Regions from separate parts of the Homo sapiens genome. Here all the other regions are linked to region 1. Evidence: promoter capture Hi-C in 16 types of primary human blood cells and fetal thymus (Javierre and others, 2016). All regions are on one chromosome and are shown on one strand. Each heading gives the region's core, a stretch centred on a gene start or on the middle of the fragment in contact. The rest is flanking DNA. Distances are from core to core; before and after follow the strand shown. Region 1 holds the start of TNFAIP3 (TNF alpha induced protein 3). Region 2 has its middle 49 kb from the start of IL20RA. Region 3 overlaps IL22RA2 (interleukin 22 receptor subunit alpha 2). Region 4 has its middle 17 kb from the start of IFNGR1.

Region 1 (4,962 bases), core at 1,432-3,931:
GCTCATTTTACATAGTTCATGACCCATAAACCCCAGCATTGGTGTCAAAATGGCACGTAACTTAGGAACTCTCCAAAAATATTTCACATAATCAGAATTCCTTTTTCATCTAATAAGGAGACATATTTTTTCTCCTAAGTGTCTACTAAATGTTAATAAATATTCTCTTCTTTAAAGAGTTCTGTCCATCTTGACAAGGCCTATAGCTCAAATTAAATCTCCTTCAAGGCTTTTCAGCATTCTATATCTCTTTGGTTTCAACTTATTCAACAAATCTCCCCAAATTGTATTTCTCCTTTTTTTCATAAGAAGGCATTCCATCTATACTCTCTCCTTCTCTTCTTTTCTTTCCTTCTGATTCACCAAGAAAATTGTCATTGGTCTTGTCCATGTGTTACATAATAGAAGGGGAAAAGGCAAGGGTACAGCCCAACACAGCGCTGATTTAGAAGGTGGAAAGGACAGTAAAGACCGCCTGGTGGTGGGAGTGGCAATTCACAAGCCCAGCAGTAGAATCATGGAAAGTGGAGTTCGAACATAATCCAGGGCTATAGACCACTCCTGCATCTGACTGCTATTACCTTGTCACAAATCCTGGCAGGCAAGATGACAAAGCAGTTACATCAGGACAGTTGGCAGTGGCAGGTATGAACGTGGCCCCTCAGGCTTGTCACTCCTCTTTACTGCACTCCCAGTTCATGACACCAGACAGCAAGACATGAGCCAGATAGGGGCAGTGGAAGCTGCAGGAGGATTGAAGTCATGGAGCCAGAGATGAGAGGAAACAGGCCAACTCTGTTTACAAAGGAGCACCAGCAGGAGAGTGGTGTGAGGATTAACATTCCATGCAGGGTCTTTCAGATACATGATCTTCTTCTGCCAGCTCAACTGAAACCCAGGAGGTTTCCTGAAGGTGAAACCAAGACCCTTCTACCTCTGAAGCCGCATTCTGTCTAAGGTCCGTGTTTGGCTGTTTTGAGAGGCTGGGAGACAGGACACCAAAAGAGTACCTGTCTCACAGGATCTTTCCTGAGAGGAATGGTCTAGTAAGACTGGTCATTATGGGCTTTGGAGTAACACAGGCTTAATGCCACTGGCGACTCTGCCCCTTTTGGTTGTGGAAACTGGGCAAATGCCTCAAGCTTCTTAACCTTCATATAAAAAGCATATATAAGCATATAGCAAGTACTTGATAAATGTCATTTTAGACCCTGTCATTTCTGCTAGCCCTGGACTCCAGCAAGGTCCATTTACAATGGATAGCTGACTATCCATTGTTTGAATGTTGATAGCACATTTGTGAACAAGAAGAGAGGACAAATAACAAGAGGTTTGGAACTGGAAGAAATTCCAGCCATCGGTTTTAAAAGACGAGGACCAGTCTTCAGAGAGGCCACTAGTGACACTCTGCTCCAAACTTCTTTTTGCCAAAAAAGTGCCACCCTCCATCCAGCCCCCACCCCCATCTCTGCAAGTCCTTACTGGCGAGAGGAGGATACTTTTCTAATTAAAAACCTGTGATATATGGCCTGACAAGTATTCTTAAATGTAATTAAGGGGACCATAGTACAGAATATTTCCATCCGGTTCTAGTTTAGCCAATCTAGTAAATGATCCAAAGGGTCCCGTGCTTAGAGGGCAGTAAGACAGTAAAAACGCCCTAAGACTCCTCCCTGCACAGCACCTGCACCCCCACTGCCCAGGGGGCTGCATCCATCTCCACATGACTCACCCTCCCTGTGCAACGCATGGGGGTAGGGAGGGAAGCGCCAGTATTATCAGCCATCAGCACCCTGGGGTGAACTGATTATCAGGACAACTAAAAACACACCTAATAAAGCCTTGGAGACACATGGCAAGCACCGTGATGGACTAGAAGCGATTTCTAAGCTGAAATGCTGCTTTGAATGCAATGTCAGCTGGATGCTTGGTGAGCAGAAATAGACAAGGGGAAATGGAGCAAGCGCGGCATAGGGGTGAGTGTTGTTCTGATTCCTAAGTTTACCTAAGACTGGGGCCACGGGGTCGGGTGTCCCCTGGGACCTACGTCTCATGCAGCCTGGGGTCCAGAGCTGGCAGGAACAATGGAGATGGGGACCAAAGGCTGTCACCGCTGCTTTTTCTCGAAATGCCCGCCCGGGTCCTGTCTGGGGCTCCCGCCTACGCGCTCATCACGTGCACAGCCCAAACTTTTCAGAGCCGGCCCGAGGCCTGCGGGCCCGGGCGCCAGGGTGGTTTTTAGGGTTTTCTTTCTTTCTTATTTCCCTTCTTCTTCTCCACAGTTGATGATTTTCTGCAGAAAAACAACTGCGAAAAAGAACCTATTTCATTTCCAGTTCCCATCACCGCGATTTCCACATGGATGTGACGTGACCCCAGCTTCCGAAATGCCCAGGTGACTCACGCGGGGACACCCCGGGGCGGGGCGAGGGAGTTTCTCCGGGCGCCTGCAGGGACCGGGCGGGGCGGGGCAGCGGGGCGGGGCAGGGAAAGGGGGCGGGGCGGGGCCCGCAGGCCCGGTCGGGCGGAGGCCGCGCGCGCCCCTCGCCCCCTGCGCCCTCTGGCGGCCGGCTGGACGCACTTCGCAGCCCGACCCAGAGAGTCACGTGACTTTGGAAAGTCCCGTGGAAATCCCCGGGCCTACAACCCGCATACAACTGAAACGGGGCAAAGCAGACTGCGCAGTCTGCAGTCTTCGTGGCGGGCCAAGCGAGCTTGGAGCCCGCGGGGGCGGAGCGGTGAGAGCGGCCGCCAAGAGAGATCACACCCCCAGCCGACCCTGCCAGCGAGCGAGCCCGACCCCAGGCGTCCATGGAGCGTCGCCTCCGCCCGGTCCCTGCCCCGACCCCCGCCTGCGGCGCGCTCCTGCCTTGACCAGGACTTGGGACTTTGCGAAAGGATCGCGGGGCCCGGAGAGGTAACCGCCGCGCCTCCCGGAGAGGTAACCGCCGCGCCTCCCGGAGAGGTAACCGCCGCGCCTCCCCGTGCCGTCTGCCTCGGGCTCACCGCAGTCAAGGGCTGCGGGTGCATGTTGGGCAGCGACCCCCGGGCTGGCACCGTCTACCTGGCGTTGGTTTTGCAGCGCTCCTGGACTGGGAGTTTGTTGGACGTTTCTGTCTGGGTTTTGAAGTGCTGGGAGTTGAGGTCACTGCTGCAGAGGTTGGAGTGACAGCCCTGGATACCTCCAGCCAGCTGTTCCTTTCAGATAATGCACGGAACTTAAGCTGCAGCTGACTGGTGAAGAGGCGCCCCTCGGGCCCTCCGATCGGGTGGTCGTTGGCGCTTTGCTCCTTTCGTGTCTTTTTTGGAGCCAAGCGTTGCATGCTCATGGCCACGTAGACCTTGCAGAAGCGCTGCGGCTTTTTCCCAAATTGTGCAGGACCAGCCCGACGGGGCGTAGGGTACCGCAGTGGCCGCCAGCCCGGCGGAGGTGGGGGGCTTCAGTCCCAGAGACAGCTTCCCAGACGCTCACGGGTCCTTGCAGGGGGCTGGGGTCCTGGCGCGGGGTTCAGCTTTTCCAGTAGCAGCAGTGTAAGAGAAGTATGCATGTAGACGTGGGTCGCTGGCCCCTGCTCCAGCCCCTACCCCACGGTTAGACTGTCTTTGTCAGCTGGAGTCGTCCCACATCCTGCCACCTGGCCTCTCAGAAAAGCAGTGGCATTAAGTAAGGAAGGAGCTTAACTCTTTTTGAGCCCGCTTTGTTTTCGGTTCTCCTCGCCTCAGATCTTCTTGCCTTGGAAAGCCAGTCTGGTCAAGTGTCTCAGGGTAGCATTTTGGCAGAACCATTGTTAATTAAAGGGACTTCTGGACCGCAACCTTAATGTACCAGATTATTGAGCAGCCAATGAATGCTTCATTCTCATTGTTTAAGGTGCTGCTTTGATTTTTTTTTCAATTCTTTGTACTATTTTTGATTTTTTGGAGAGGCACATCCCCAAATTTGGATGAGGTATTTGTTGATAAATAATTCATCAATTTCCACAATGCAGACAAAAATGTCTGCCCAGAGTGGAAAAATAAAACAAGGGGGAGAAGAGTTTGAGTAACGGAGAAGTTCTGTGGAATCCTAGTGACAAAAGTTGAGAAACTACCTTTAAATAAGACAGTGAGGTAACAAATGTTAAAAAAAAAAAAGTTAAGGGTAATATTGCATTGTTTGCCACTTATAACGTATCTGAAACATTTGTTCTTTAATCTTAAGCGTAGAGTGGTCCAAGACCTGGAAATCTGGGCAGTGGGTTTTGATTTCTAAGGAGGCAGTTTTACAGGCTGTGCAAGGCTAACCCTACCAATGAGATCACACTGGCGTATCCGATATTGACATTTGCATGTCTTGCCTATGGTTTACAGCTCTCACTATTTTAGATCTTTGGTGAAAAATCTTTAGATTCAGAAGAGAAAAATAAAAGAGTCAGGCAAGCAAAAAGAGATAACACCTCATTTGTTTAAAATCTTCCTACTGCCCATCTCTTTCCATCTGATTGTGGCAGGCACTGTAGCCACAGGTTTGGTGTTGTGGGATTGCAAGGGGCAGGTATTGAAAGACCTGGCTCCTAGGCAAAACTTTGCCCCTGAATGGCTGTGGGATCTGAGCAGTACCTGTAACTCCATTGCCTTAGCTGCAGACTAAGGTGGTAGTGTAATTTCAGGGAAGGGAATAAGGTCATCTTTGACTTTTAGTCCCATCATCAAGCATGGTGATTGGCCTTCAGTAGGTGGTCAGGTAGTGCTTGTTGGGTGGATGGGTGGATGGATGGATAGATGGATGGATGGATGGATGGATGGATGGATGGATGGATGGACGGACGGACGGACGGACGGATAGATGATATTGTGAAAGAGACTTTTGCTGTGCCACAAAGGAAAGGTATATGTGTTATTTTTATCCTGCTATGATTTTGCCCAATTCCACCTGTAGAGGACGTCTGACATCAAAAGAGAGCACCATCTGATCCAGAGAAT
Region 2 (4,962 bases), core at 1,445-3,944, 770 kb before region 1:
GTGCACTGTAAATATGTACAATTTATTTTATGGCAATGGATGTAATTTGGTTGCTTTTCTCCTCCAAATGTTTTTCCTCTCATGTTGAAATGTGACCCCCGATGTTGGAGGTGGGGCCTGGTGGGAGGTGTTTGGATCATGGGGATGGATCCCTCATGAATGGCTTGGTGTCATCCTCATGGTGATGAGTCTGTTCTCACTCTATGAGTTCACATGAGATCTGGTTGTTTAAAAACAGCCTGGCACCTCCTCCCCGTTTCTCCTGCTCCCCTCTTGCCATGTGACATGCATGCTCCCCCTTTGCCTTCTGTGATGATTGGAACCACCCCGAGGCCTCACCAGGAGCAGATGCTGGTGCCATGCTTGTACAGCCTGCAGAACTGTGAACCAAATAAACCTTTTTTTCTTTGCAAATTACACAGCCTCAGGTATTCCTCGAGCAATGCAAATAGACTAACACAGCAATTAAATGCCAATAAAACAATTAATCTTAAAAAACCTCACTAACCTTTTTGGAGCACCCTGTTTATTGCTGTGGGTGTGTGACAGCTGGAAGACAGGGCTCATGGAAAGGTCAAAGGAGGCATGGGCACCCATTCCCCTTGCCCCTGTTGTTGCTGCAGATGGTATGTTGCTCAATATCATATCAGTATGACTACCCGGAATCCTGGGTGATAAGAAGTACAACTGGAGACTGGGACACACACAGTGACTGCTTCTGCAGTGTGGGGATTCTGTATAAAAGCCCTTCCCCCTGGCTCTAGGTACTGGCCACCCTCCCAAGGGATGTGAGATATTTCTGCAATCACTTACCTCCTTCCTCCTCCTGTTTCTCTCCAGCCTGTGCAGTGCAGGGAAGAGCACTGGCTCTCATGCCATACTGCTGGGGTCTGCTTTTGTGCTTCCCCACCTGGTGGCTCTGAGATCTTAGCCAAGCACTGTACCTTCCTGGGGCTGCTGTAACAAAGCACCACAAGTTGGGTGGCTTAGAACAGCAGAAATATGTCGTCTCACAGATCTGCGGGCTGCAAGTCAGACCATGATGTTAATAGGGTTGATTCCTTCTGAGGGCCACCAAGGAGACTCTGTTCCAGGCCTTACTCCAAGCTTCTCGTGGTTTGCCAGCAATCTTTGGCATTCTTTGGCTTGCAGCAGCATAATTCCAGTCTTTTTTGTGTGTATGACAGGGTCTCTCTCTGTCGCCCAGGCTGGAGTGCAGTAGTGCAATCTCGGCTCACTGCAACTTCTGCCTCCCGGGTACAAGCGATTCTCCTGCCTCAGCCTCCCGAGTAGCTGGGATTATAGGCACCCACCACCATGCCCGGATAATTTTTGTATTTTTAGTAGAGACAGCATTTCACCATGTTAGTGGGGCTGGTCTCAAACTCCTGACCTCAAGTGATCTGCCTGGCTCGGCTTCCCAAAGTGCTGGGATTACAGGCATGAGCTACCGTGTCTGGCCATTACATGGTATAATCACTGTGTGTGTGTGTCTGTGTTTTCACATAGCATTCTTTTTGAAGGACACCAGTCATATTGGATTAAGGGCCCACTCTACTCCAATAAGACCCCATCTTAACTAATTACATCTGCAACCATCATATTTTTGAATAAGGCCGCATTTGGGGTACTGGGAGTTAGAACTTTAACATATGAATTTTGTGGAGACACAATTCAACCTTTGAAAACAACAGATTTAACATCTCAGTCTTCTCATCTATAAACCAGGGATATTAGTAACATCCACATTGCAGAGTTGGTGTAAAAAAGATTCAGTCATTTCCTAGACAACCGCTGTAACCAGCTAAGCCTTGAAGCCACATGCTCAGTCATTTAGAACATGTTAAGCACATCGAGACATCTCTGGCTCACAGCTAGCAGCTGGTAAATGTGAGCCATCATTATTTTTCACAACTACATGTGCAGATTTTGACCCTGGGAGAATTTTTTGTTCTAGATTTACACACTAACACCCCTCCCATCTGACCTTTGACCAAGGTTTTTACTACACGTATAAAAATAATAATATAAAGGAGTATGAGCCAAGTACTAAAGTCCTGAGGAGGTGATATCTCTGTGTGCCAAGCAGTCACGGAAGCCTTCATGGGTGATGTTAGAAGACTGTTTTAGTCTGTGCTTGCACTACTATCAAGAACTATCTGAAACTGGGCAATTTATAAAGAAAAGAGGTTTAATTGGCTCATGGTTCTGCAAGGCTGTGCAGAAAGCATGGTGGCTTTTGCTTCTGGGGAGGCCTCAGGAAGCTTCCAATTGTGGTAAAAGGCAAAGGGAGAGCAGGAGTCTTACATGGCTGGAGCAGCAGCAAGAGAGAGGAAGTGGGGAGGTGCTGCACACTTTTAAATGACCAGATCTCATGAGAACTCACTCACTATCATGAGAACAGCACCAAGGGGATGCTGCGAAACTACTGACAAGAAATCGCTCCAATTGTCCAATCATCTGTCACCAGGCCCCACTTCCAACACTGGGGATTACAATTTGACATGGGATTTGGGTGGAGACATGTATCCAAACCATATTACAGACCTTGAAGATGGGGAAGGGGATTGAATCCTTTGATCAAAATCCCATTTTGTGCCTCTGATTTTGGGAAAAATTACTGATCTTCCTTGAACTTCAATTTCTCTATAAAATGGCAATAATATAGTTGTTGCATTGATTAAATGAGACAAGGTAAAGTGTTTGTCAGATGCCCCAAACCCAATAGGTGCTCAGTGAATATTTTTTAAAAATATAGAAGTTATGTTGTGGGCAAAGACTTGGGCAAATTATTAGGAACAAGACTGTAGCTTTTGGGCAGAGCACAGTTGGACTTACTGGCTCAGTAATTCCACATTTGAGTAGAACAACAACTAGTTTCTCAATGATGACACATCAGGATCAAACACCCGGGGGACCTCTCCTGCAATTGCTGTTCTCTTTGAAGAAGCTCCTTTTAAATAGAAGACAGTACCTTGAAATATGGCCACAGGAGGTCAGTAGCGTGCTGTGGTTCTACGCAGAAGCAAAAAAACAGTCCCCTCTAAGCATCTTTAAGCCATAAATTCCTTGTTGTAAACTAAGAATATGTTATTCCTTCCATATTTTCAGATAAATTGACAGCTAAGCTTAAAGAAATTATGCTTTCAGCTTGTAATATGGAATAGACAGGCACTAACTTATTCTTAAAGACTCTTATTATGACACGGCTGTGTTTGAAGAAATGGTTTTGTTTTGTTTTTTAATGAAACCTGTGTTTTGGTCAAGAGTGTTACCACATTCAGATCACAACTTTTCTAAGGAAATACACTCAAAGACACCTAACATTTGAGTGAGATTAATCATAATGTAAGATTTCTGTGATGTGTGCAATGGGGCTTCAATATCTTAGATCTCACCATGATGGGCAATTGCTTGTCTTTTTCGAGCCTTGATTTCTCATCTTTAAGACAGGAGTGACGCGGCTGTTGTCATAATTAAGTGAGGAAATGTAGTTAAAGCACCGACCACCAAGCCCTAAACATTTTGTGCTTCTGGATGCCCAGTATCCTTCCTGTTTGGGGAGAATCTGAAGATGGGTGAGGGACAGGGCTTGTCCCTCGCCGCAATGGAAGTCAAAGGGGGACGATCTTTCTTCGACTCTTTGACCCCTGGCTGCTGGAGCATGGTCATGTGACCAAAGCGTGGCTGGGCATCTCAAAGGCTCAGCCACTTGCATATTATTTGTGATGTCAGGTGTAGGCTAGTGGCGTAATAGCAAGCACCCGGGATCAGCAGGTCCCTGCAGGATGTTGGCGGGGCTTTGCCTACCTTCGTTTCTGCCTAAGTATGCTGAGTTTTCCCAACAACGCTGGGAGCTTATTTATATCCTTCTAACAAATTCAGGTTAGCCAGAAAATCTACTGTTGTTTGCAACCCAAAACACTGAAGAGTGTAAGATTCAAGTTTAAGTTTATGGTAAATGTGCAAAATTACTCGTTAAAGGATTCTGGCTGGTATATAATAGAGTTTTCTCCTGAGGTTTTTTCCACAGTACAATCGATGATTGTAAAAGAAAAGCTGAATAATTGAAAAAAGGCCTAGTGTTTTGACATGACAATAGAAATAATATTTACTAGACACAGAGAGCAGGGTTTCAACCATCCTGTAATTGTCAGCCATGCAGCAGGGCTGTCTGAGGACAGCTGTGCATGTAAATCATCACTGGTTGCCTGGATGAGATAACTAGGTTACTGGTGGCTTCCCCTTCTTCTGGCTTCAGAGGTTGCACCCAAACTCAGTTTCCCATGGGCCCAGTGACTTCCTCTCTCATATCCTCCCACACCAGACCTTCAATGAGACTAAATGGAAATATCTCTGAAATCCACTGATGAGAGAGCAGTAGAACTAACACTGTATATATGTGTGTGTGTACATACTTCAGTATGAAAACAGGAATTCCTATGCATAAATGGCATAACAACACCATATGGCCCCTCACCAATGCATCAGAAGGTAAATAGCTTCTCTTCAGATGATGTTAGAAGAATCATTTGTCCAGTTATTCAAGTTAAATGTCATTTACTTTTGAAATGTTTCTTTGTGATTTAAAGCCTGTCACTAAAAACAAACCCCACACCACCACCACAAAACAAAAACCAAAAAATAAAAGCAAACCACTGCTCTTTGCTTCTCAAACTCTCTCACTGCCTGATATCACACTCACCAGGAAATTTTCTTGGTGATAGAACTTCCATTTCCTCACTGTCTCCCTCACCACCTACCCTACCTCCCATCAGCCCTGGCCTTGGGAATGAAGTGGTCAGAGAAAATGATCTCCTCATAAATGTCTGATGAAAATCGGCTTGCCACCCTGTAACATGGGAAGACATTTGTATCATCTATATTCTAGGTTGATCATAAAACCATCTTATAAAATTGGTTAATTATGCTGGGGTTCAACTGTTTATTATGTCAGACAAG
Region 3 (4,962 bases), core at 1,755-4,254, 710 kb before region 1:
AATGTTGAACCCCTAGTATAGTGCCATATTCCAGGGGCTCTCATCTTCCATCTCGTTGCAGGTAGGTTTATTTTTGTTCCCTTCCAAAAGGGAGGGGGCAAGAGACATTGGTTATAGATTTTCTTTACTGCTGGATATAGATTCTGGTTACAGATTTTGTTTATAGATTTTTATTTACTGCTTCAATGCTTTTATTAGCAGACCCCTAACCACTCCTGGGACCACACATACACCCATAGATGTAGTCAATGCCTTGTTCATGAGCATAGTACTCCACAATACATTGCTTATGACAAAGAACTTAAGTTAATGTGAAAGGAGTGAAGCAAGGTCTCAAGACCCATAGGACAAATATATATCATATATTTGTCGCTCAGAAATCCATGACTTTATAGGAAGGTGAAATGGATAATTGAAAACTCAGTTTGAGAGACGTCTTGTGAATTGGCATATGAATTGGTAAATGCTCCAATTGGTAAATGCTTCACTAAGCCTAGGGCCAATATATGGTGCTATTTCTTCCACAGACAGAATTCACTGGTCTAGGATACAAGAAGTAGAAGTGGGAGGGGCAACTCTGACTGTTACCCATAGTGAACAACTTATGACATGTTTTTGTTTCCCATATGCTTGGCCTTGAATTCTTCTGGTTTATAACAAAAATGGTTTCCAAAAATTGGAAGTCGAGGCTCTCTCCTGACCATTTGGAGCGCCTCATGCCATTTAACTAACAAAAAGAAAATGAGGTTCTTATATTGTCTAGGGTGATTCATTCTGATTTTCAAGGCATAATATAGTTATAAATACAATGGGGTCAGGTGGAAGAATTCTTGGTATCCTCTGGTGTGCCTCTTAGAGCTTCTCTATTCAGTGATAAAAATTAATGTAAGGTTAGGTCAAGCGGAGACAGGAAACACCAAAAGGACTCAAACTCCTCGTGGATAAAGAGCTGAAGTGCTGGCTGGAAAGAAAGTGAATGTTGAGTTTATAATGAAGGAAGAAGTCATAAATATTAACTACAGCTTCATGACTAGTTGACTTGTTGCAATTATGAGGACTGTGGTAAATATCTTTTTTTTTTCTTGTTCTATTTATGCACATCTTTATATCTATACATTAAACCCCTTCTCTCTCTCTCTCTACTATTTTATCCAATGTCTGTTGGTAATGGTTAATTTTAACACCTATGTCTTAGATTATATTATTCTATGGTTGTGACTAAACTAAAAAAGGAATAAATATCCTTCAGGATGGATACTGAGAAAGCACTTTTGGTCTGCCTTTTTGGGGAGGTGACTAAAAGTCTTAATTTCCTCAACAGAAAATTCCTGTAATCAGTATTTTCATGAACTTAACCCTCGTGTTTGGGGAAGGACTAGGCACTATGACAAATTCTGCTGTCTAAAAATACTTTTTTAGGGGCTGGGCATGGTGGCTCACACCCATAATCCCAGCACTTTGGGAGGCCAAAGGGGGCAGATCACCTGAGGTCAGGAGTTTGAAACCAGCCTGGCCAATATGATGAAACCCCGTCTCTACTAAAAATACAAAAATTAGCCAAGGGTGGTGGCACACACTTGTAATCCTAGCTACTCGGGAGGCAGAGGCCGGAGAATCGCTTGAACCCGGGATGCAGAGGTTGCAGTGAGCCAAGATCGTGCCACTGCACTCCAGCCTGGGTGACAAAGCGAGACCCTGTCACACACAAACACACACACACACACACACACACAAGGTGACAAATTGATGGAGTGGAGGCTCTGCAGTCAGATATAGCAAATTTGAACCCTGACTTGGATAATACAGATTGCGAGATTGGAGCAATGACTAAAGCCTCTACATCTTGATGTTCTGGACTAGAAAATTAGGATAATAAAAGCTATCTCCTAGAGTTGTTCTGACAATTAGACCAAAAGAGATAATGATGTAGAGACCTCAGCAAAGCACAAGGCCTAGTCACTAGCCGTGCTCCGGGAGGGCTGTCCAAAAGCAGGAAGAACAAGGGCAAAGAAACTCCATGGAACTCACTTTCCCACCAGGGAGTGAACCGCGGCGTCATGCTCCATTCTGAGTAGCTCCCAGCCGAGGCCGCCCTCACCCTCCCGTAATAAGGTTCCTGTATGTCTGAGGTTTCACTGGTAAGGTCACAAGAGAGTTCTTGAGTACCCCAACAGTCTTCTTTATTTTTCCATTGTCTCTGTCCATATCTGTAGCAGGGAAAAGGCAAAGATCTGAGTTTCTTTTCTCCACTCAAGGAGTCTTCAGTATTTTCAGACTAATAATTTTTTATACCTGATTCTAGTAGCAATACCACCATGATAGCTTATGGCTCCTCTTCAGAATCTTTAAAAAAATTCCTTCTTATTAACTGTTTCAGTCCATTTTCTGTTGCTATAACTGAATACCCGAGACTGGGTAATTTATAAAGAAAAGGAATTTATTTCTTACAGTTTTGGAGGCTAGGAAGTCTAATGTCTAAGAGCCATAAGAGCCACATCTGGTGAGGGCCTTCTTGCTGGTGGGGACTCTCTGCAGAGACTTAAGGTGACAGAGGACTTCACAGGGATTCAAGAGAGATGGCATATACATATATATACATATATATATAAAATATAAAATATATATAAAACAGACCAACTTTTTTGATAACTAGCCCACTTCCTCAATAACACATTAATTCGTTAATCCATCAATGGATGAATCCATTCATGGGGGCAGAATCCTCATGACCCAATCATCTCCCCAAAGTCCCACCTCTCAACATTGCTGCACTGGGGATCAGGTTTCCAACACATGAACTTTTGGGGGACACATAGAAACCACAGCATTACCTAAAGTGCTGTCTTGCTGGAAGATAAACATCCCTGACGCTTTCTGTATCACTAACATAAGGGTTTTAACCTTTTTTTTAATACTTGGCAAAATGTTCTTTCTGGTGTGTGGACTGACTTCCATTTTTGAATACTCACTCTCCACATCCTTAATGCTCTGTGGTTTTGGCTGTTTGTGGTTTTTCTCCACTTCTCATCAGCTTGCTGTTGAGTAATGTGGCTGCTTCTGAGAAGTTGCTACCACTTTTCATCTCAGGTGTTGCCTACCCAACATACATGATTAATCTCTTTATTGAAAATTGACGGGAACTTTTATTGAGGACTATATATGGAGCCCTGTAATTAGGGGTTGGGAGAGGGGGAGGGAATCCCATGAAAAAAGGTAGTGAGGCAAGAGGCAGAGTGGTTGACTCAGCCTGAGGCCACAGGATGGTGTAATAGTCAAAGGGAAGATTCACGCTTTGTTTCCTTACCTGCCATAAATCAGACCAATGTAACAAAGTGATGGTGGGGAAAAGAGAAGGAATTGGAGTCTGGGGAGAAAGGTTTCCCAAAATATTTATTGAAAGACTTGAAATCTAGCTTTCTAGACACATAATAAGGAAGATAGACGGTATCTATACTCGGTAATCTACATGGTGACAGCAGTTTCATTCCATCACAATTAAAGCAGAACCACAACATATATTGAGTATAATTTGATGTTTTAAAATTATTATTTATTTATAATAAGTCTTGAACTTAGCTGTAATGACAGACTTCTCTTTTAAAATAATATCTCATTGTTTATCCTATTCTAAACGCAAGGGATATAACAGTATTATAGCCCATGAACTGGATACACCAAAGTGAAAGTTTTCAAAATTATAAATTTGTCTTGTGCTGTTGAAAATCCCTTAGAGACAGGAATGGATTCAGGTATTCTGGGGTCTGAAATTTATACAATCTTGGTCCATTTAATGTTTCTATAACAGAACACCTGAGGCTAGGTAATTGATAAGGAAAAGAGGTGTACTTAGCCAATGTTCTGCAGCCTGGGAAGTTACAAGAAATGTGCTGCCAGCATCCACTTGGCTTCTGGTGAGAGCTTTTCATGCTGCATGAGAACATGCTAGAGAAGGTCAATGGGGAAAACAGATCGTGTGAAGAGGCCAAACTCAAGGGGCATCCTGGCTTTACAACAACCACTCTCATAGAAACATTTCCATGACAAATTCAGTCTTGCAAGAGTGAGAACTCACTCAACTGCAGCAATAATGGTACCAAGCCATTCATGAGTGCTCCATCCCCATGACCCAAACACCTCCTACGAGGCCCTACTTCCAACACCACCACACTAAGGATCAAATTTCAACATGAATTTTGGTGGAGACAAACTCAAACCATAGCAGCTTGGGAGTCCTCTTTAGGAAAAGATTTATAAATATAAAATCCTTGCATTGGGGTCCTGAAGTTTAATCTTCATTAGATTCATGGTAAAACAGTTTCTAATCTTCTTAGTACTTTGGACCACAAATAGGTCCACTTTTGACCTATTTATACTACTCCAGGGGAAGCATAAAAAGAGTACCAATCTTTACTTTCTGCATGCTGAAAGTATCTCCAGCAATGCACAAATCTACTTTTGTAATGGAGAAACCTTCATTGTAAAGATTTGTACATTTTACAATCGCTACATAAAATATGTAGAGAGAAGTCGTAGCGGTTAAAGATGGAGATGCTTCTGGGGATATTCCTTCCGAAATTAATTAGCAGGAAAATCTGACCTAGGACCTACCCCATGCTGGAGAGACATGGATGAATTTATGGGATAAAAATTGCTACTTTGGCCATAGCTGCATTTGATTTCCTGAATTTCTATTGAAAAACCATGAAAGCTAAACTGTAATATCTCCTGTCTCACTGTCAGGAGACAGGATTGAGCCTCAACCCCCCTCACCCCCCCAGAAATATATGAGTGGAAAAACCTGACATTTTCAAGTCAAGAGTGTTTGTTTCCAAGCCTTGAGCCAGGAAAGGAGTAGATTATATCTGAGTTTTGGCAATGATCCAGCAGGAGTAGCCTGAGGATCACACGAGAGGAACATGCAGCAGCGTGTTCCAGTTTGTGTTCATGCTTACGAGAGTCATT
Region 4 (4,962 bases), core at 976-3,475, 630 kb before region 1:
TTAAATCAAAGGCATTCAGCTTGGGAGCCCTGGTCTAGGAACTGTATCTAATTTTTCTGTTCATCTTTCACACTGCAGCTGATCTGAGCCTGTGGACTACCTATCAGTACTGACTCCTGATGTAATAATAGTAACAGGAACTCATCACTGTGTGCTGTACAATGTAGGGAGTACTTTTAAACAACCATTGTATTATTGGATTCCCACAAGTGTAAGCAGTAGGCAGCACACCAATGTTATTTATTATCATTTTGTAGATGTGGTCACAGAGAGGCAGACCAACTAACTGATCTTCCCAAAGTCCCAAGCCAGGTGACTCAGTTGGCCTGTCCTGCAGGCAGGATTCGGCCAGGTCTCTGAGTCTCCTTCTACTGGTGCACATTTCCTGTTAGTATTTTCCTCAGGGAAATCCCTTTGGCTCTGACTCCTGAAAAGAAAGCTTGTCTTCTAAAGTTGCCAAATAATCTGGTCTGCCTTCAATTGAAGGGACTTTGAATCGTGGGAAGAGGAAAGGGGAGAGCTGTGCTAAAAAGATGAGTCATTGCTTCAAGATTGAGGAAGCAAGGTTTTATATCTCGGGGACTTTTCAGGAGGAGGATCAGTGTTTCTTGATGGTGAAAACAAGGAAGTGGAGGAAGGGAAGAAAGCACACCCAAGTATTTATTTTCCCTTCTGTCTTTGAATGCACATTCTTCCTATTATATTTTCTATTTGCCACATCTCTTACTCATTTTAACAACTTTTTGTTAAGAATACCTATTGGTTAAAAATTATTTTTTATTTCTTAACATTGCAGTTTGCTTTCTATACTATGTCCTTAATTGACTACCTCTGTATAAGTAGCTGGTACACATGTATTTTTTTTCAGGAATCCTTTCTTACTTATATTCAGATGTGGCTTAATTGGACAAACCCCACTGAGGTTCATCACTTTTCTTTTCCTTTTCTGCTTGACTGTCCTCTTTCTCCTCCAGCCATCCATCCACCTGCGAGAAAGGGCTATAAAAGGCGTCCTTACTTCCTTAAGAGGAAGGAAATGGCAGTGAGTTTTTTCACCAGTAGAAACATGTAGATGAGTCATATTTATAGCCTTTTTTTTTTTTGTCACCCACGCTGGAGTGCAGTGGCGCACTCTCTGTAGCCTAATTCTTTAATGCATACACCTGTTTAGTAGGCATTTCATTGCCAACCTTTCAATGCTCTTATGGGTATTTAGTATGATCTGTGAGAATCTGGAGGACTGGTTAGTATATTAAGTCCTGAACTTTTTAAAAGAAACTTGGTTGCTTGTTCTGTTGGTATGAATTAAGTTCTCAACCAAGAAAATAGATTAATTAATTGGGCAATGTTAGTTGTGGGCATAGTTTTAGGAAGACTTCTAGGATCTTTAAAATATCCACTTCTGCCTCTTTCTGGGATGAGAACTATAATACTTTTTCTTAAAATCACTTTGAGCAAATTATAATATACATACAGAAAAGTGCACATACGTGAATATAATTATTCATTTTCAAAAACTGAGAATATCTAAGTAACCAGCAGCTCCCAGTCCTCTTTATACTCCCTGCTATTCTTTTCTCTTTAGCCTACAGGGAACCCTTGTCCTCACTTCTAATAGCAGAGCTTGGTTTTTCCTGTTTTGTACCTTATATAAGTGGAATCTTACTTTAGGTAGTCTGGTGTCTAGATTCTTTTGCTGAACATCAATTTTTTTAAAGTACGTTTTAATACTGTTTTCAATTTATTCTCATGTGCAAAGCCTTGGACGTACAGGGAAGTGTGAGAAAAAACCTGAAAACCAGTAAGCATAATCTCATCACCTATAGAGACCTACTATTATAATTTTTGGCTATTTTTTTGGAATACTTTTTATATGAAATGTTTAAAAATTTTACATAGCTAAGTATGCTGTGTATTTAACTTTGAATTCTGTCTTATTTTGGCTTAATATTATATTTTAGCATCTATTTTTAAAAAAATTATTATTACTGTTACTATTTTTAGTGACGGATCTGCCTCTGTCACCCAGACTGGAGTGCGGTGGTGCAATCATAGCTCACTGCAGCCTCGAACTCCTGTGCTCAACCAATCCTCTGCCTCAGCCTCCCAAGTACCTGGGACTACAGACATGTACCCCCATGCCCAGTTGAATTTTAAAACTCTTTTTAGAGATGAAGTCTCCCTATTTTGTGCAGCCTGGTCTTGAACTCCTGGGCTCAAATGATCCTCTTGCCTCAGCCTCCTGAGTAGTTGGGATTACAGACCATGAGCCAACATGCTTAACTCAGCATTTTATTTTTCATTAAAGACTTCATAAACATTTTAAAAGGCTGAATATTGTCATTTTATAAATGAACCATCATGTACTTACCTATTCCCTTTAGGGTGAATATTTAGATGGTTTCCAAATTGTTGCCGAACAAGTAATGCAGTGGTTGACATTTTAATACAGAAATATTTTGTTTGCTTCCCTCTTTCCCTCCGCCACTTCTTTCCTTCAATTTTTCTTTTTCTTTCTCTATTTTCTATCTTCCTTCCTTACTGTAAATACTTTTCATGTGCCAGTTACTGTTATAGGTACTAGGGAGAAAGCAGTGAGTAAACCAAAGTACTTGCCCTCATTTGCTTTCATGATTCTAACTTACTTCTTTTTTTTTTTTTTTTTTTTTGAGATGGAGTCTTGCTCAGTCGCTCAGGCTGTAGTGCAGTGGCACGATCTCAGCTCACTGCAAGCTCCGCCTCCCGGGTTCACACCATTCTCTTGCCTCAGCCTCCCGAGTAGCTGGGACTACAGGTGCCCGCCACCACGCCTGGCTAATTTTTTTTTTGTATTTTTAGTAGAGACAGGGTTTCACCATATTAGCCAGGATGGTCTTGATCTCCTGATCTTGTGATCCACCTGCCTCAGCCTCCCAAAGTGCTGGGATTACAGGCGTGAGCCACCGTGCCCTGCCACTACTTTTGAAAATCAGATTTATTGAGGTATTATTTATATTTGCATGCAGTCAAAAGCATCACTTTCAACATACATTTTATGGCATTGACAACCTATACAGTCATCTAAGTACAACCACAATCAAGTTAATTCACAAAAAGTTCCCTTAGGTCCCTTTGCAGTCACCTACCTCCACCCACCACCTAGTAAACGCTTATCTGTTTTCCATCTGTACAGATTAGCCTTTTCCTGAATGCCATAGAAATGGAATCATTCAGGACTTAGCCTTTTGTCTCCGTCCCCTTCCCTTGGGATACTGCTTTTGAGATGCATCTGTGTTGTTGCGTGCATCAACACTTAGTTCTTTTTTATTCTAGAGCAGGCTTCCATTTTATGGATGTACAACATTTTGAAAAGATCGATCTGTTCACCAGTTGGTGGTCATTTGGGTTGTTTCCAGTTGTTGGTGATTATGAATAAAGCTGCTGTAAACATTCACTTTTAGACTTTTCTGTATGTGGACACATGTTTTAGTTTATGTGGGCCAAATACCTAGGGGTGGGACTGCTGGGTCATGTGCCACGAATTTGTTTAACTTTATAAGAAACTGCCAAACTATTTTCCAAAGTGGCTAAACCATTTTGAATTCCTGCCAGCAGTAAATGAGAATTCCACTTGCTCTGTGCCCTTGTAGTAAAATATTTTCAGGTTTTTAAAAGTTTTACTTTTTTCTAATAGGTATATGAGCTTATATTTTATTGGAAAGCATCTGTCCTTTGCCCAACTTAATCAGTGTTGATATATTTCAATCTCTCACACTTCCTTATAGATTAACAGAGACTGGTGGATCAGTCCCCTCAAATTCTGATGATTAGAAGGGGCCTCTTGGAATTCCTGAGTGGCAATTCTAACTGTGGGTTCTTTGGAGTTCAGGCAGACCTTTGGGGTTGACAAGTATTAGGAGTGTGCTGTATATCAGGAGGGCATGTTTGTGCACTGGGGTGGGGAAGTGGGTGAGGGAAGCCTGCCATTGGTATGTTTCTTTTAAGAGCAGAAGAACCTGGGAAATTCCCAAGGAAAGCTTTGTTCCCAGATGACTAAGCAAGATGGGCTGCTGGTGAGCTTAAACTAGGAGACAGCCTGGGGCAGTACTCAGGAATCCAGTCCTGAAATAACAGGGGCCTGAACTAGATTGTAATGTTGGTAAAGGCTGGGTGTGATAAAATAAAAAAAAATGTATAAAGAGGGTGGAAATGATAAAAGGATTATCAAAATTAGTAGCTGAATATTATTGACATGAGGGTAAATAAGGAGTTGACATGCTTGAAGTTTCACATTTAGACAATAAGGAGAAGGATCCCAACAGTACAGTGAAACATTTTTCAAGTCCCTGTCTTGCTAAATCCAATGGTCATGCACTTCCCCAGCTGCATTTTACTTGACCTATCAGCATATTGACATAGGCTAACTGACACACAAGAAGGTCCCTTCTTCTTTCCTCTCTGAATCTTAGGGTACTGTTATACTTCCTCTTGATTCCTTTGTTTTACTGGCTGCTCTTTCTCATTCTCCTTTGCTGATTCCTCCTTATTCTCCTTTGCTGGTTCCTCCTCATCTTCTCCACATCCGAATATTTAAATCTCTAGCCCAAACCTTTTTCTTAGACCCCAGACTTGCATATTTACCTAGCTACTCAACACTTCCCCTTGAGTGTCTAATAAACATCTCAAACTTCAACATATCCACGACCAAACTCTGGATCTCCATAACCCCAAGCCTGCTTCTTTCAGTCTTCCTCTCTTCTTCCAAATGCTCAGGCGCAAAACCTTGAGATCACCTTTGATGTCCCTCTTTCTTTTCTGCCCCACATTATCTCCATCAGCGTATGTTTCTGGCTTCACCTACAAAATATGCCTGGAATCTGACCATTTCTTTCCAATTCTACTGCACCGTAGTGGACCAAATCATCATTATCTCCTAACTGGATTCTTGCTGAAACTCTCTGTTTTTACTCTTGTCCTCTTAGA

Evidence for each region. Contacts are between HindIII fragments. The CHiCAGO score rates a contact against its expected background, and 5 or more counts as called.
Region 2: a fragment that was not itself captured here is called in contact with the fragment with the promoter of TNFAIP3 in region 1 in 1 of 17 cell types (M1 macrophages); the score reaches 5.5 in M1 macrophages.
Region 3: a fragment that was not itself captured here is called in contact with the fragment with the promoter of TNFAIP3 in region 1 in 1 of 17 cell types (monocytes); the score reaches 6.6 in monocytes.
Region 4: a contact is called between a fragment that was not itself captured here and the fragment with the promoter of TNFAIP3 in region 1, in 2 of 17 cell types (M1 macrophages and naive CD8 T cells). The highest score is 5.5, in M1 macrophages.

What each region holds. Positions count from the first base shown.
Region 1 is chr6:137,864,578-137,869,539 of GRCh38, forward strand. TNFAIP3 (TNF alpha induced protein 3) reads left to right here and starts at 2,682. Exons shown (of 9, transcript NM_001270508.2): 1 at 2,682-2,965. It overlaps WAKMAR2 (wound and keratinocyte migration associated lncRNA 2), which reads right to left and starts at 3,656. Exons shown (of 4, transcript NR_049793.1): 1 at 3,065-3,656; 2 at 2,006-2,307; 3 at 582-743. RefSeq lists an enhancer at 2,219-2,358 and silencers at 2,439-2,578, 2,819-2,988, 3,129-3,228. The HindIII fragment of the contact is 5,781 bases long and covers 1,141-4,962 here.
Region 2 is chr6:137,091,550-137,096,511 of GRCh38, forward strand. No RefSeq gene overlaps it. Among named protein-coding and RNA genes, the nearest start is that of IL20RA, 49 kb to the left of the region's middle. RefSeq lists enhancers at 2,771-2,820, 2,841-3,090, 4,498-4,637. The HindIII fragment of the contact is 864 bases long and covers 2,263-3,126 here.
Region 3 is chr6:137,152,913-137,157,874 of GRCh38, forward strand. It overlaps IL22RA2 (interleukin 22 receptor subunit alpha 2), which reads right to left. Exons shown (of 7, transcript NM_052962.3): 4 at 3,847-3,942; 5 at 2,029-2,207. Among named protein-coding and RNA genes, the nearest start is that of IL22RA2, 18 kb to the right of the region's middle. The HindIII fragment of the contact is 9,502 bases long and covers 1-4,962 here.
Region 4 is chr6:137,233,611-137,238,572 of GRCh38, forward strand. No RefSeq gene overlaps it. Among named protein-coding and RNA genes, the nearest start is that of IFNGR1, 17 kb to the left of the region's middle. The HindIII fragment of the contact is 3,577 bases long and covers 438-4,014 here.